Linked DNA regions of Homo sapiens: region 1 is linked to region 2. The links are contacts of gene promoters, found by promoter capture Hi-C in human tissues and cell types (Jung and others, 2019). All regions are on one chromosome and are shown on one strand. The core of a region is centred on a gene start or on the middle of the fragment in contact, and the rest is flanking DNA. Distances in the headings are between cores, read along the strand shown. Region 1 has its middle 35 kb from the start of LPIN2. Region 2 holds the start of MYOM1 (myomesin 1).

Evidence for each region. The method cuts DNA at HindIII sites, captures the fragments that hold promoters and counts their contacts. A contact is called where the count stands out against the background at its distance.
Region 1: a contact is called between a fragment that was not itself captured here and the fragment with the promoter of MYOM1 in region 2, in 2 of the 25 tissues and cell types used here (dorsolateral prefrontal cortex and mesendoderm cells).

The regions. Positions count from the first base shown.
Region 1 is chr18:3,045,118-3,052,133 of GRCh38, reverse strand. No RefSeq gene overlaps it. Among named protein-coding and RNA genes, the nearest start is that of LPIN2, 35 kb to the right of the region's middle. RefSeq lists an enhancer at 110-610. The HindIII fragment of the contact is 7,534 bases long and covers 1,949-7,016 here.
Region 2 is chr18:3,218,039-3,224,789 of GRCh38, reverse strand. MYOM1 (myomesin 1) reads left to right here and starts at 4,822. Exons shown (of 38, transcript NM_003803.4): 1 at 4,822-4,987. RefSeq lists a silencer at 6,525-6,751. The HindIII fragment of the contact is 14,410 bases long and covers 3,660-6,751 here.

The DNA.
Region 1 (7,016 bases), core at 4,466-6,965, 170 kb after region 2:
GAGTCTTGCCCTGTCACCCAGGCTGGAGTGCAGTGGCAGGATCTTGGCTCATTGCAACCTCCACCTCCGGGGTTCAAGCAATTCTTGTGCCTCAACCTCCCAAGTAGCTGGACTACAGGCACACGTCACCAAAACCAGCTAATCTTTGTATTTTTTTAGAAGACATGGGGTTTCGCCTGTTGGCCAGGCTGGTCTTAAACTCCTGATCTCAAGTGATCTGCCCACCTCGGCCTCCCGAAGTGCTGGGATTATAGGTATGAGTCACTGTGTCTGGCCAAGGGTGGTTCTCAAGGAAGTGATTATAGTGTTGGACCTTGGAGTCTAAGGCTGGGTAAGAAGAATCAGAAGAACATTTGATAAATGATGCTCAATAAACTGGTAGTCCCGATGAGAGAGGAATATTTGGAATTTAAGCTTTTGGGTAAGCAGGCCAGAGGATATTATGGTCAGACAGTGGAATGCTTAAGTTTGAGATTTCAAAGACTATTTTCCCCACTAACCTCTCTTTATTAGTAGGCAGAGTAGTTAATAATCCATGAAATGAGATTCCAGAAATAGAAAAAAAAGGTGCATTGTCCTCACCTCACCCAAAATATATATCCCCTTATTTCCTCTCAGTGGGCTGAAATTGCATAATAAGAAAGCCATTCGCCCTTCATCAAGTTACTTCCTATGACTTATGCCAACAGGGCACTGCATCTACTCCTTCTGCTAGCGAGTATGAATAAAGCCCCTCTCGGCCCAAAGTCTCATGCGATCAAGTCACCCATGCACAGCACTGGGCAGGACCGATGCTGCTCCCAACTTCACGCAGTGAGCATCTTCCCTGCTTCACGTTTCTGTGAGAATTAATTTATCAGATTACTTCCAGAGAATGAGTTTTTATGTGATAAAGAGAAGAGAAGGCACCTGTAATCCCAGCACCTGGGGAGGTCAAGTCGGGAGGACTGCTTGACCCCAGGAGTTCAAGAGACCAGCACTGACAACAAAACAAGACCTTATCTCTACAAAAAATTTTAAAATTAGCTGGGCATGTTGGCATGCACCTGTGGCCCCAGCTACCCTGGAGGCTGAGGCAGGAGGATCACTTGAGCCCCGGATTTTTTTTTTTTTTTGACAGAAACAGATCTTATAGCTTTATAAGATTCTTCATTTGCCAGTTTGCAGATAATCTCTCCCTGTTTAGACTACCAGTTCCTTGATTACTTATTTCATTGCCCTAAACAGTTGTTTAGCTAGGTAACCCTAAATTGCAAACATTACTCTTAGGTGAAAATTGATACCCCCAGAGGCATAGAACGTATATCTATATACCATTATTTGCTGAAACAAAAAGAATCAGTCAAGATAAGATTGCCAGGAAAAGTATCTTTAAACATAGGTAAGGTTTGTTACGTAAACTTTAAGCCAGTGTCTTTCCCATTGTAAAGATTTCTAGCTGCTTTGGTATAGGGGGATGTCCTTACAAATGGAGATTTCCTTTATAGAAGTAAATTTATTTTACATAGAGTTTCAAAGTAGCCCGCTAAGTGCTAGAAAGTTGTATTTTGGAGACTAATCTTGTTAGATACTTAGTTCGTTTCTTGATTACATTACTGACTTCAAAGTGGAGCCCTTTCATGAATGGGACCAGGAAAGTATTTGCAGTTTCCAGGGCCTAATACATATATATTTTAAAAATTTCTTTCTTTCTCTCTCTTTTTTTAAATTTTTTTAGTATTTATTGATCATTCTTGGGTGTTTCTCGGAGAGGGGGATTTGGCAGGGTCATGGGACAATAGTGGAGGGAAGGTCAGCAGATAAACATGTGAACAAAGGTCTCTGGTTTTCCTAGGCAGAGGACCCTGCGGCCTTCCGCAGTGTTTGTGTCCCTGGGTACTTGAGATTAGGGAGTGGTGATGACTCTTAACCAGCATGCTGCCTTCAAGCATCTGTTTAACAAAGCACATCTTGCACCGCCCTTAATCCATTTAACCCTGAGTGGACACAGCACATGTTTCAGAGAGCAGGGGGTTGGGGGTAAGGCTATAGATTAACAGCATCCCAAGGCAGAAGAATTTTTCTTAGTACAGAACAAAATGGAGTCTCCTATGTCTACTTCTTTCTACACAGACACAGTAACAATCTGATCTCTCTTTCTTTTCCCCACATTTCCCCCTTTTCTATTCGACAAAACCACCATCGTCATCATGGCCCGTTCTCAATGAGCTGTTGGGTACACCTCCCAGACGGGGTGGTGGCCGGGCAGAGGGGCTCCTCACTTCCCAGACGGGGTGGCCAGGCAGAGGCGCCCCCCACCTCCCGGACAGGGTGGCTGGCCGGGCAGGGGATGCCCCCCACCTCCAGGAGAGCCCCGGATTTTGAGGTTATAGTGAGCTATGATCGCATCACTGCACTCCATCCTGGGCAACAGAGCTAAATCCTGTCTGTTAAAAATAAGTAAATAATACAAAATAAAGAGCAGAGAAGGTTTGGGCCTTCACAATTTGCTTTGTGCTGGCATTGTTTTTCTAAAGGTAGAGCAAAACTGCAAGTTTTATAAAAGGGACTAAAAAGCAGAAATATGTAACAAAAATCTTAAAATTATATATCCTTAGACACAGAAATTCTGCATTAAATAATTTTACCATAAGAAAATAGATAATGGACTAAGATGTTTGAATAAGAATGTTCACCACAATATTATTTACACATCAAATCACACTCAAAGCATTTCAACGCTAAAGAATGAGACCTCATCTCTATTTTTTAAAAAGTTAATCCTAAAAAATAGGAGATTTAAAAAAAAACAAAAAACCTGTGGTAATCCACAGAGGAAATGCTATGTAGCTGACAAAATGTTAATTGATATATTGCTTAACTGGTAAAGAAAGTTTATTTTCTTTTCTTCAACTTAAAATCACACAAATGGGCCAGGCACAGTGGCTCATGCCTGCAATCCCAGAACTTTGGGAGGCCAGAGAGGGAGGATCACTGAGGCCGAGAATTTGAGACCAGCCTGGCCAATATAGCAAAACCCTGTCTCTACTAAAAATACAAAAAATTAGCCAGGCATGGTGTTGCACACCTGTAATCTCGGCTACTCGGGAGGCTAAGGAAGGAGAATCACTTGAACCTAGGAGGTAGAGGTTGTGGTGAGCAGAGATTGCATCACTGCACTCCAGCCTGGGCAATAGAGCAAGACTCTGTCTCAAAACATTAAAAAAAAAAAACAAAACACATAAATAAATGTGGAGGAAGAAAGATGAAAGGGGCATAAATCAAATTGTTATGGCTGTAGGGTGAGATTATGTGGGATTTTTAGTTTATTTTGGGATTTTTTTGTGCTTTACTGTTTTTGTGGAAAAGCCAACTAAATGTAAGTGTATTTAATCATGAAGAAAAACATCCAATTTGATTTTATTCTCTAGCTGTACAAAATGTATTCATCAACCAGCCTCAAAATTCTGCCATAAGACTTAATTAACTCTAACAAATAAAGCTTTTCATGGGCAATACTTATTCTAATAGCATCCATCACAAAAAAAAACAGTTGATTCAAACTAAATTACTTGAAAATATAAAAGAAATTCTTGCCAGAAAATAATGATGCCCATGAACAGACAAGAAGGTACAGCATTCTTTTTCTAATATATATTTTTTTCTGATAACAAAATTATCCTACTTTGGAAAATGTAGTTAGTGCAGTAGCTTGAGCCTGGAGACCGGCAGTATTGTAAGGCAAAAACAGTTCTGGCATCTTCCTGGAGTCTGACTGGGAGCATCGCTGGAGGAAATGATGGGGAGTAATTGCAGAGACTGCCATCTGTCTCTGCATGCAGAGAAGTCGCAGACGGCCCTGGGATGTGCTGCCTTCTAGCCCACTTCCTATGCTTCTACTTTAGACTCCAAACAGAGCAAGAGGGACGGGAGGGAGAGGACGGAGGGCAATGAATCCAAAGATGGAAAAGCAGAGAAGATTTAAAAAGGAAAGACAGAGGGGCAGAAGAGAGAGACCCATGTCACTTGTTCTTTGGAATGAAAGAGGACGGGTGATACATTTATTATTCAATAAGACAATCATATATTCATTCATTCTCTCAACAAACACAAACCAGGCTCCCACAATAGCCCAGACCCTAGGTTATGACAGGAAAGAAAACCATCTTTCCATCCAGGTGAACACAATAGACCAGTCTTCTAGATGTACTTTTTTTAAAGACAGAGACTCAGTTTGTTGCCCAGGCTGCAGTGCAGTGGCACCACGATGGCTCATTGTAGCCTTCAACTCCGGAACTCAAGCAATGCTCCTACCTCAGCCTCCGAATAGCTGGGACTACAGGTAAGCATCACCCAGCTGCCTACTGTTTAAATGTTTTGGGTTGAGCACGGTGGCTCATGCCTGTAATCTCAACACTTTGGGAGGCCAAGGCAGGAGGATCACTGGAAGACAGGAGTTTGAGACCAGCCTGGGCAACAAAGCAAGACCCCGTCTATATAAAAATAAATTAATTGGGCTGAGCGCGGTGGCTCATGCCTATAATCTCAGCACTTTGGGAGGCCGAGATGGGCGGATCACCTCAGGTCGGGAGTTCAAGACCAGCCTGATCAACATGGAGAAACCCCGTCTCTACTAAAAATACAAAATTATCTGGGTGTGGTGGCGCATGCCTGTAATCCCAGCTACTCAGGAGGCTGAGGCAGGAGAATCGCTTGAACCAGGGAGGCGAAGGTTGCGGTGAGCTGAGATTGCGCCATTGCACTCCAGCCTGGGCAACAAGAGCAAAACTTCGTCTCAAAATAAATAAATAAATACTAAAAATAAATAAATTAATTAATTAAAATAATTTTTTTGTAGAGATGGGGTCTTTCCATGTTGCCAGGGTGGATCTTGAACTTCTGGGTTCAAGCGAGCTTCCCATCTCAACCTCCCAAAGTGCTGGGATTGCAGACGTGAGTAGAATATATTTTTTGTTATTCCTCTACACAAAACTTTGTGACCTTGGCTCACGAACATGCTTAATAAACTTGGCTCATGATTTTCCAGCCCCTGGAATCACTTTTTCCTCCATGTTGCCTAGCCAAATTCTGATTATTCTCTGCTGCTTATCTGTTCCACAGAGTCATCTTTAACTATTTCTTCTAAGCCATGTGGGTATTTCATTGAACTCCAATTTCATTAATAATGAGCACTAGACTTACATGTTAGAATAACATTATTCTTTATTTGTGGGCATTTTCTATTCAGTTTGTAAGGTAGGTCTTGTGGGTTCCTCACACTAATACAACAAGAATAACAAACATCTATTTAGCATCTCTATGAACTATAAACTAGGTAACATGTATAGGGTGAAATCATGAATGAAACATGGACCCCACACATGAGAAGCTCAATTGTCTCAATGGAGCAAAATAAGCATGTTACCCATACGTTTTGCTTGGCAGTATCTGGAGGCTGTGTGGGTATCACTTAATCACCTGAGAGAACACACAGTCTTAGTGGTAACCCAGCTTAAACACACCCTATGTCTAGAGAGGACAGAAATGAGTCTTAATTTTCACATCCAACCCCCCTGCCACTCACACAGATCACACAGAACTCTTTCCATTCAGATGCTTACTATAAGTTCCATCGACTTCTGGTCTCCCTCCCACTTTTCTTCCTTTATGTTTCCAGGGGCCTTTTCTGCCCCTCTGCCCTCCTCCTGCAGACACCAGGCATTGTCCCGGGCCCTCCTGCACCAGAGCAGCTGTGGGCCCCTGGTGGGCCTAGGCCTCACACATTCTTCAGACTGGACAGTCTATGAGACAAACAAACCTTCCTCCTGCTAATCTTGAGACCATCCCTGTAGTCTGTGATCAAGGTAGAAAGGGAGGGCCCAGGACCTGAAACATCCTGTACTGATGCAGATCCACAACAAAATACAGTCGTGTGCTGCATAATGACCTTTTGGTCAACAATGGACCACATATATGACAGCAGTCCCGTAAAATTATAATAGCGTATTTTTTACTGTATCTTTTTGTTGTTGTTGTTGTTAATTGAGACTGAGTCTCACTCTGTCACCCAGGCTGGAGTTTAGTGGTGCAATCTTGGCTCACTGCACCCTCTGCCTCCTGGGTTCAAGCAATTCTCCTGCCTCAGCCTCCCGAGTAGCTGGGATTACAGGCACGCACCACCACGCCCGGCTAATTTTTGTGTTTTTAGTAGAGACAGGGTTTCACCATGTTGGCCACGCTGGTCTTGAGCTCCTGACCTCAAAAGATCCGTCCGCCTAGGCTTTACAAAGTGCTGGGATTACAAGCATGAGCCACCATGCCCAGACTTACTGTACTTTTTCTATGCCTAGATATGTTTCAATACACACTTACCTCATTATATCTTCCAACTCCCTGTCACATAGGAGCTTCTCGGTAAGTATTTTATTATACACTAATGAGCTGAGTATAAGATGCAAAACACGAAGAAAGTGCCTACTGAGTAACCCAGACAGACGCAGGACAAAGACAGGGCATCTCTGGCCCAGGCAGTCAGGTCAGTTGAGGGAATGCTATGCACAGAAACTTCCTCTTGGCTTGTTGCCCGCAGTGGGGCTGTTAGCCTTTCTGCCCTTTATTTGCTTACTTTATTAGATTTTTTAAACTTGTTTTTGCATCTAGCACAGTGTCTTGCACAGGGTAAACACTCAATGCACACTCACAGAACTTAATGCAAACCGTGCCGTGATTGGTATTTGGGGGCGTTTTTGTTTGCTTGATTGTTGATGAATGGTGAGCGTAAAGCCTGCTGCATATAGGAATTGCTGCTTTTGCTGCTTTTGTTTCCTGCCACCCTCCCTTGATTTCACTATGCAATCTATCTTGTTCATTTTACAACTACCTGCGCAGCCTCAGTACAGTCCCCTGCAAGCCTCCATTCCTTCCACCCTCAGCTGGCCTTGAGATAAGCACCCCTAAGAGTATTCAGCATGGGGGCTGCCCAGCCTAATCTGGCATGGCATTTCCCACCGTGTCCTCACAGATGGATCCCCTGCCTA
Region 2 (6,751 bases), core at 3,573-6,072:
TAGGAGGCTGAGGCAGAGAATTGCTTGAACCCAAGAGGCGGAGGTTGCAGTGAGCCGAGATTATGCCACTGCATTCCAGCCTGGGCGACAGAGTGAGACTCCATTTCAAAAATAATAATAATAATAATGATAATTCCATTTCCATAACCATGAGTGGAGCATTTCACAACAAATTATGTTTGTGCTTCCTAATGGCCTGGAGTCTGGTCTAGAGGACAGGGTAATAGGCAAGGATCTGACTAAGGCTCGGGCCCTATCCCACTTACCTGCCAGTTCTGCACCATGGCAGGCATGCCCTCTTCCAAGGCTGGGCTTTCAGCCCAGCACTTCTTCCCCTTTCCAAAACTGGGAAAGGAGCTCACAGGGGCCCCTCCCAGTCTGTGGATTCTGATGCAAGATGTCAACAGCATTGGCCTTAATTTTGCCATTGCCCAGATACACTCAACATTCAAACTAGATCTAATTTTATGTCGGGTGCAGTAGCTCATGCCTGTAATCCCAGAACTTTGGGAGGCTGAGGCAGGCAGATCACTTGAGGTCAGAAGTTCGAGGCCAGCCTGGCCAACATGGCGAAACCTACTAAAAATACAAAAATTAGCCGGGTGACAAGGCGGGCGCCTGTAGTCCCAGCTACTCGGGAGGCTGAAGCAGGAGAATCTCTTGAACCTGGGAGGTGGAGGTTGCAGTGAGCTGAGATCATGCCATTGCACTCCAGCCTGGGTGACACAGTGAGCCTGTGTCTCAAAAAAAAAAAAAAAAAATCTAATGTTAGATTTAGTTCACCTAGTTTAGATCTAGGTCATTTAATAACTAGATGAAATTTGGCTTCTGATAAGAGTCCTAGGCCCCACTCTCCAGCCACTCGCACCCTCACCGCTGGCTCTGCTTCCCTCCCTCTCCGCTACTCATTATACACAAAGACTTAAAAGAAACAATAACATATTGAAATACCTTTCTGGGTTATTTTCAGCATAGTAGGGATTAAAGTCATAAAATGACACTCTCAGGGAGGAGTATTTCAGATGTGAGCCAGCAGGTAGAAGCAGAGTTTTTGGATCAGGGATGATTTGTTTTATTCTTCCCACAAATTGCTCCACACAGAATGTTGCTAATCTGCTTATGAGCAAGGCAAGAATAGAATAGTTACTTTGTGGATTGATAGCACAGGTTATTAGAGCTGGAAAGCACCTTAGTGATCATCTAGCTCTAAGCCCTTTAGTTTACAGATGAGAAAATGGAGCTTCAGAGAGGTGAAATGATTTTTCAAAGTTACTCAGTAAACCACAGGACTAGATGCCAAATATGATACCTTTCTTATTTTAGTGTTGCCTATAAATTAGTCAACACTGAAGTAGGAAGGATACAGCAAATTTATGGCTTTCAAAAGAGCTCACTGAACAATTTATTTAAGCTTTTCCTTCCGTGGAAAACATCCGCATTGAAGAAAAAATGAACAAAAATAGGAGATATAAGTCCTCATAATGGTAGCTAATATTTAATGACTATTTGCTATATGCCAGGAAGTAATACTGTTTTACAATATCTTATTTGATTATCTTATGCATGATTATCATGAAAACATTTTATGAATTAAGAAATTGAGATTTACAGCCAGACATGGTGGCTCACACCTGTAATCCCAGCACTTTGGGAGGCCAAGGCAGGCAGATTGCTTGAACTCAGGAGTTCGAGACCATCCTGGCAACATGGTGAAACCCCATCTCTACAAAAGTACAAACATTAGCCAGGTGTTGTGGCATGTGCCTGTAGTCCCACCTACTCGGGAGGCTGAGGTGGGAGAATTGCTTGAGGCTGAGGAGGTCGAGGTTGCAGTGAGCCAAGATTGCACCACTGCATTCCAGCCTGAGCAACAGAGCGAGAGACCCTGTCTCAAAAAGAAAAAAAAAATTGAGATTTAGAGAGATTAATATCCTTAAAGTCACAACCAGAAGGTGACAGAGGATGGAACCCAGGACTGTTCCACACAGAGCATAGCCTCCTATATATGATACTATGCTGCCTCTCAACCATTTAACTGTGTGTGTATGCCTGTTTGTGTGTGTATGTGTGTATGTGCACACGTACACATTTATGTTGATAGAGAGCACCATGTGCCAATACTGTCCATTAGAAGGAAGAAATGTTACAGAAGAAGAGTTTCATTTATGTTTCTTATTAACAGACAATAATTTATTAGGTCAAAATGTACTGGCTACAAGTATCAATACATTTAAATATTTACTGAACTTTCATCCTTGTTAAAAATACAAAAATGAGAGAAGTGCACACACACTATAGAAAAACTAAAATATTATCATTGATTCATTGATACTCAAGATCCCTGTGAAAGCAAGAGTTTATTCCAAACAAATATACAGTAAGTTTAGACAAAAGAAGCATGAGCTAGACCCAGCAGAATCTCCTAAGTGATCTTTCTGCTGTGGCATCATCTAGATTCAGGTTTTTCTAACAGCAAATTTATCTGAATTACAACTAGCTACATAATAAATTACATATGGTGATGTACTGGATAATAAAACTAAAGAAGAAAAACTTGGGCTCATATGAATCAATTATTGTAACTTAGTTATGATTCCTTTATATATGTGGACTCTGGTCAATTACACTTACTCATGATACCCTTACAGATATGTGATTATCCTGAAAACTTAATGGAGTGGTTAGCCAGCTGTTAATTTCAAATTTCCCAGAAAATCATCTAATGTAAAACACTTTTTAAAAAGCATATAAGTTTATTTTTCCTCTTTTCTGCTTTGAGAAGATTTGGGGCAATTGACCAATGTTCTCTAGAGAAACAGCTCACCAGGAATCATCCTAATGGCTGGTGGATAAGACTTGAGAAGAATCACTGCATTCTGTATTGGATATTTAGAGAACAAATGGATGCTTGGGGAACATAACACTTGGAAAACTCGCCTATGGCTTCCAGATAGCTAAAATGTCCACATGCTTACTAATAGCAGAGGTATGTATATGAAGAAATTCCAGGTTGAATTTCACAGGTACCTGGATCAGAACTAGGTGGAACAGATTCTTTTACATACTTTGAGTAGCTCAGAAGCTAACCGTCTATTACAAGTGAAGACCCGTATTGCCATTTCAAAATGTCTAGTTTCTTACTATCAAAGTGCCACTGGAGGAGCCAGCAATACATGACTACAAGTACACGGGCTTTGGAATCAAATGTCTCTGAATGAAGTTGCGTTTCTGTCATCTACCCGCTGTGTGATCTTTGGCAAATGCCTTCCCTTCTGGAAGCTTTGCTTTCCTCAACGGGGTAATGAAGCTGTACCTTGCAAGGTATGATAAGTCAGTGGGATCATGTATATAAACTGCCTATCCCAGTGTCTGGCACTGGATAGGTCCTCAACAGTGTTAACTGTAGTTATCATCAAGAAAGTCATGATGAAGTATACTATAATATTGAGTCTGTTCAATATCTTGATAGAGACTGGGTGCAGTGGCTCACGCCTGTAATTCCAGCACTTTGTGAGACTGAGGCAGGTGGATTACTCGAGTCCAGGAGTTTGAGACCAGCCTGGGCAACATGGTGAAACTCCATTTCTACCAAGAGTTAAAAAAAAAAATTAGCCGAGTGTGATGGCATGCGCCTGTAGCTACTCGGGAGGCTGAGGTGGGAGGATTGCTTGAGCCTGGGAGGCAGAGGTTGCAGTGAGCCAAGACTGCACCACTGCACTCCAGCCTGGGCAACAGAGTGAGACCCTGTCTCAGAAAGAAAAACAATTTTGATAGACACAGGTGACCTTTATTCAGTTGATGTAATATCACTGTCAGAACATAAGGCCAGTAGATCAAAATACCAACCTGCTGCATACATGTAATCTAACAATGAGCTTTTATATTATTGGTATCAGTAATAACAGCTGATATTTACTGAGTCTATATTATGTGACTGTCACTAGGTCAAGTGCTCTGTCTGCAGTATCACATTTAATCACCACAGCAATCCTATAATTTGGATATGATTATCCCCATTTTATAGACAAAAAACCTGAAGCTTAGGAAGGAGAAATAAATTGCTGGAGATTACATGGCTACTAAGTGCTATCAATATAGTGGGATCTAGATCTGGTCTGAATCCACAACACAGGCTCTCACAACCGGGTTACACCTCCTCTTAATTGGTCACACCATTTAAAGAACAAAGAAAGAGAATCTCTTATTAGATGGACTGACCCTACTCTGAGTTAGGAAAGATAAAACACTGAGTTGCGTCTCAAAAGGCTTTAGTTAATGAACAGGAAATCACATATTCAGGCTTGAAGCTAAGACTTAACCTTGTAAATTTTCCTGAAGTGAGAGAAATAGTGACCGTGATGTCAGGCAAAAATCGCCACCACGTGTAACCCATTTCTTCCTTGTTTTGCCTTTAGTTAGCTTCAAGTTCTTTTTTCACATTGTATCTTTTAAATGTACCGTACGTGTGTTGTTAACAGCACACTCAGAATCATATCTTGGCATTAAAATTCCACGAAGTCCATTTTGAGAATCATATTACTACACCTATTTTTAGCTGTTAACACAAACCACTCTTTCCATTACACTTTTAAATTATCTACTGATAAAGTGACATTGAAAATAACTCTTGTTGCCAAATAAAAACCCTATATTTGGTTTAATCGGGCCAGACCCATTGACCGGCATTATGCAATTATATTACTAAGGCTGCTACCTGCCCATGCCCCTCTCCTCCTCCTGGTTTGGAACTACCCTCCCCATCTGCTGCTATATTTATCTGCCTTCTTGGCCATAAAAGGCTGGTTGTGTGGCCTGACATTCGACTGCCTGACCACATGCATTATTTTTGAACTGGCCCCCAGGGTCCTGTCTTTAGCCCTGCCTCTTAACATTGTCTTGGATTCAACCTAGGTGGAGTCTTCATTCTCTCATCCAGCTCCTCGGCCTCATCGGAACATTTCCACCACCATTACTCCTTTGGAAACTGGTAAGTGTGACACTGAGGCAGAAGAATGCACTTGATAGCTTATGAGCTTAGCAGCAGTGCAGTGTAAGTGCTTTCTTTCTGTCTTCTGAACTCAGCAGTTTTCTCAAAGAGATGTCAGAATAACAGAGAAATAGGAAAGTGAAGCTCCAGGGAGGGAAACCAGAACAGCCGGGTGCCAGTCGGGCTGGCACAGCTCTTCTCTCACATCACTGTATTCTTCTGAAATTAAGCTGCTGTTCCTGGAACTGTAAGGAGGTCATATCTGCCTCGGATTGAACTGTAAGCGTGTGTTTAATGCTATTTCCAAGTACGGTTTGGTTGAAATCTGAAATGGATGAGAGACAGGAGGCCCTGCATTTTCAATCCTGCATGTGCCATACAATGCTCCCTGGTTACAAATTAGACCGAAAGAAGGAAAATTAACTCTGAAGTCACTAGTTTATAATTCAGGGATCTTGCTGTGACGATGCAATGTGGATAAATGTGAGCGCGCACAATGATATGGCCTCAAATGGTTAAGTAATATTTCAGAGGCAACATAGAGCCCCACATAGTGATTTTTCTGGGAATCGTTTTCATCAGCTTCTGCCCTCTAATGCCTGCACAAAAGTATCATAAATTACAGCTATGGAATTTGTATTTCTTCCTAAATTCTCAAATTATTTTCAGAAAGAAAATTTAGGTCTTAAAGAAACAAAAGACACTAAAACCATCTTTCCTCCCAACGTACTCCAGCCGTCATGTGTTGGAGCTAATCCTGGCTTTAGTTAACTTCAAGGGCTTACTTGATGAAGAGGAGGTGGTTGTACCTTTGTTCCAGAGGTCAGGGCTGTGACAATCAGCAATGTGGGCTTCAAGTCAAACCCTGTTTACTTGTAACTTACTATCTATGTGAGAGGAATAGTAAGTATTATTAAAAATAAATGTATTTGGGAGAAATAGAAATAAAGAGAGTAAAAAATAGTATTGGGGCAAGATATTTAAAGATTTTATTTTGTGAAAATAACAGCATTTCAAGTCATCTGGGGAATGAATTTAGTTTATAACATAACAAGTTTCTTTATTATTTATTTGAAAAATCATTCAAATAACATGTGCCATGTTACAATGTAGTATCATAACAGAAACTTCTCTAATATCTTTATAACTGCCTAACGTAATTCTGTATTAACATTTTCTAACCCCTTTGTTTTATCAAAATTCATCTAGTAGTTATTAATTATACATGGTAATTATCCTCCATATTTTGTAACAGAAAATAGCCATCTATTTAAGGGTTGAAGCAAAGTTGCTTGCTAGTAGCTATTTTTTTCCCTTAGGAAATGCCCTGTAGACTGATATCTTCCATGAACCCTAAGATAAATATTTCTGGAGTGAAGTTTGCTCAGTTTTCTTCTCTGGGGAATACATGCTGACTTTTAAAATAGTTTAAATAAAAAGTAGTTTTAAACTTGACAAAGAATATGCTGAGTTTAGAAGGATTCATTCTTCATTTTGAATTTTTTTAAAAATGACATTTGGAGAAAACAGATCACTTTAAAACTAATTCTACAGCATTAAAACACTTGGGGGTGGAGCTTTTATAAAACTATTACTTCATCCAGGGTTGTCAACGTGGCTGATAGGCCTGCTTCAGTGGATAAACTATTCAAGAATGCTAAGGCCATGTGACATCTCCCCACCCTATGCTAAACAAACATACCTTTGACTTTTAGTAGAACTGCTAGCTCAAGTTCACAATGCCAGCTGTCACCCTGGGAATCG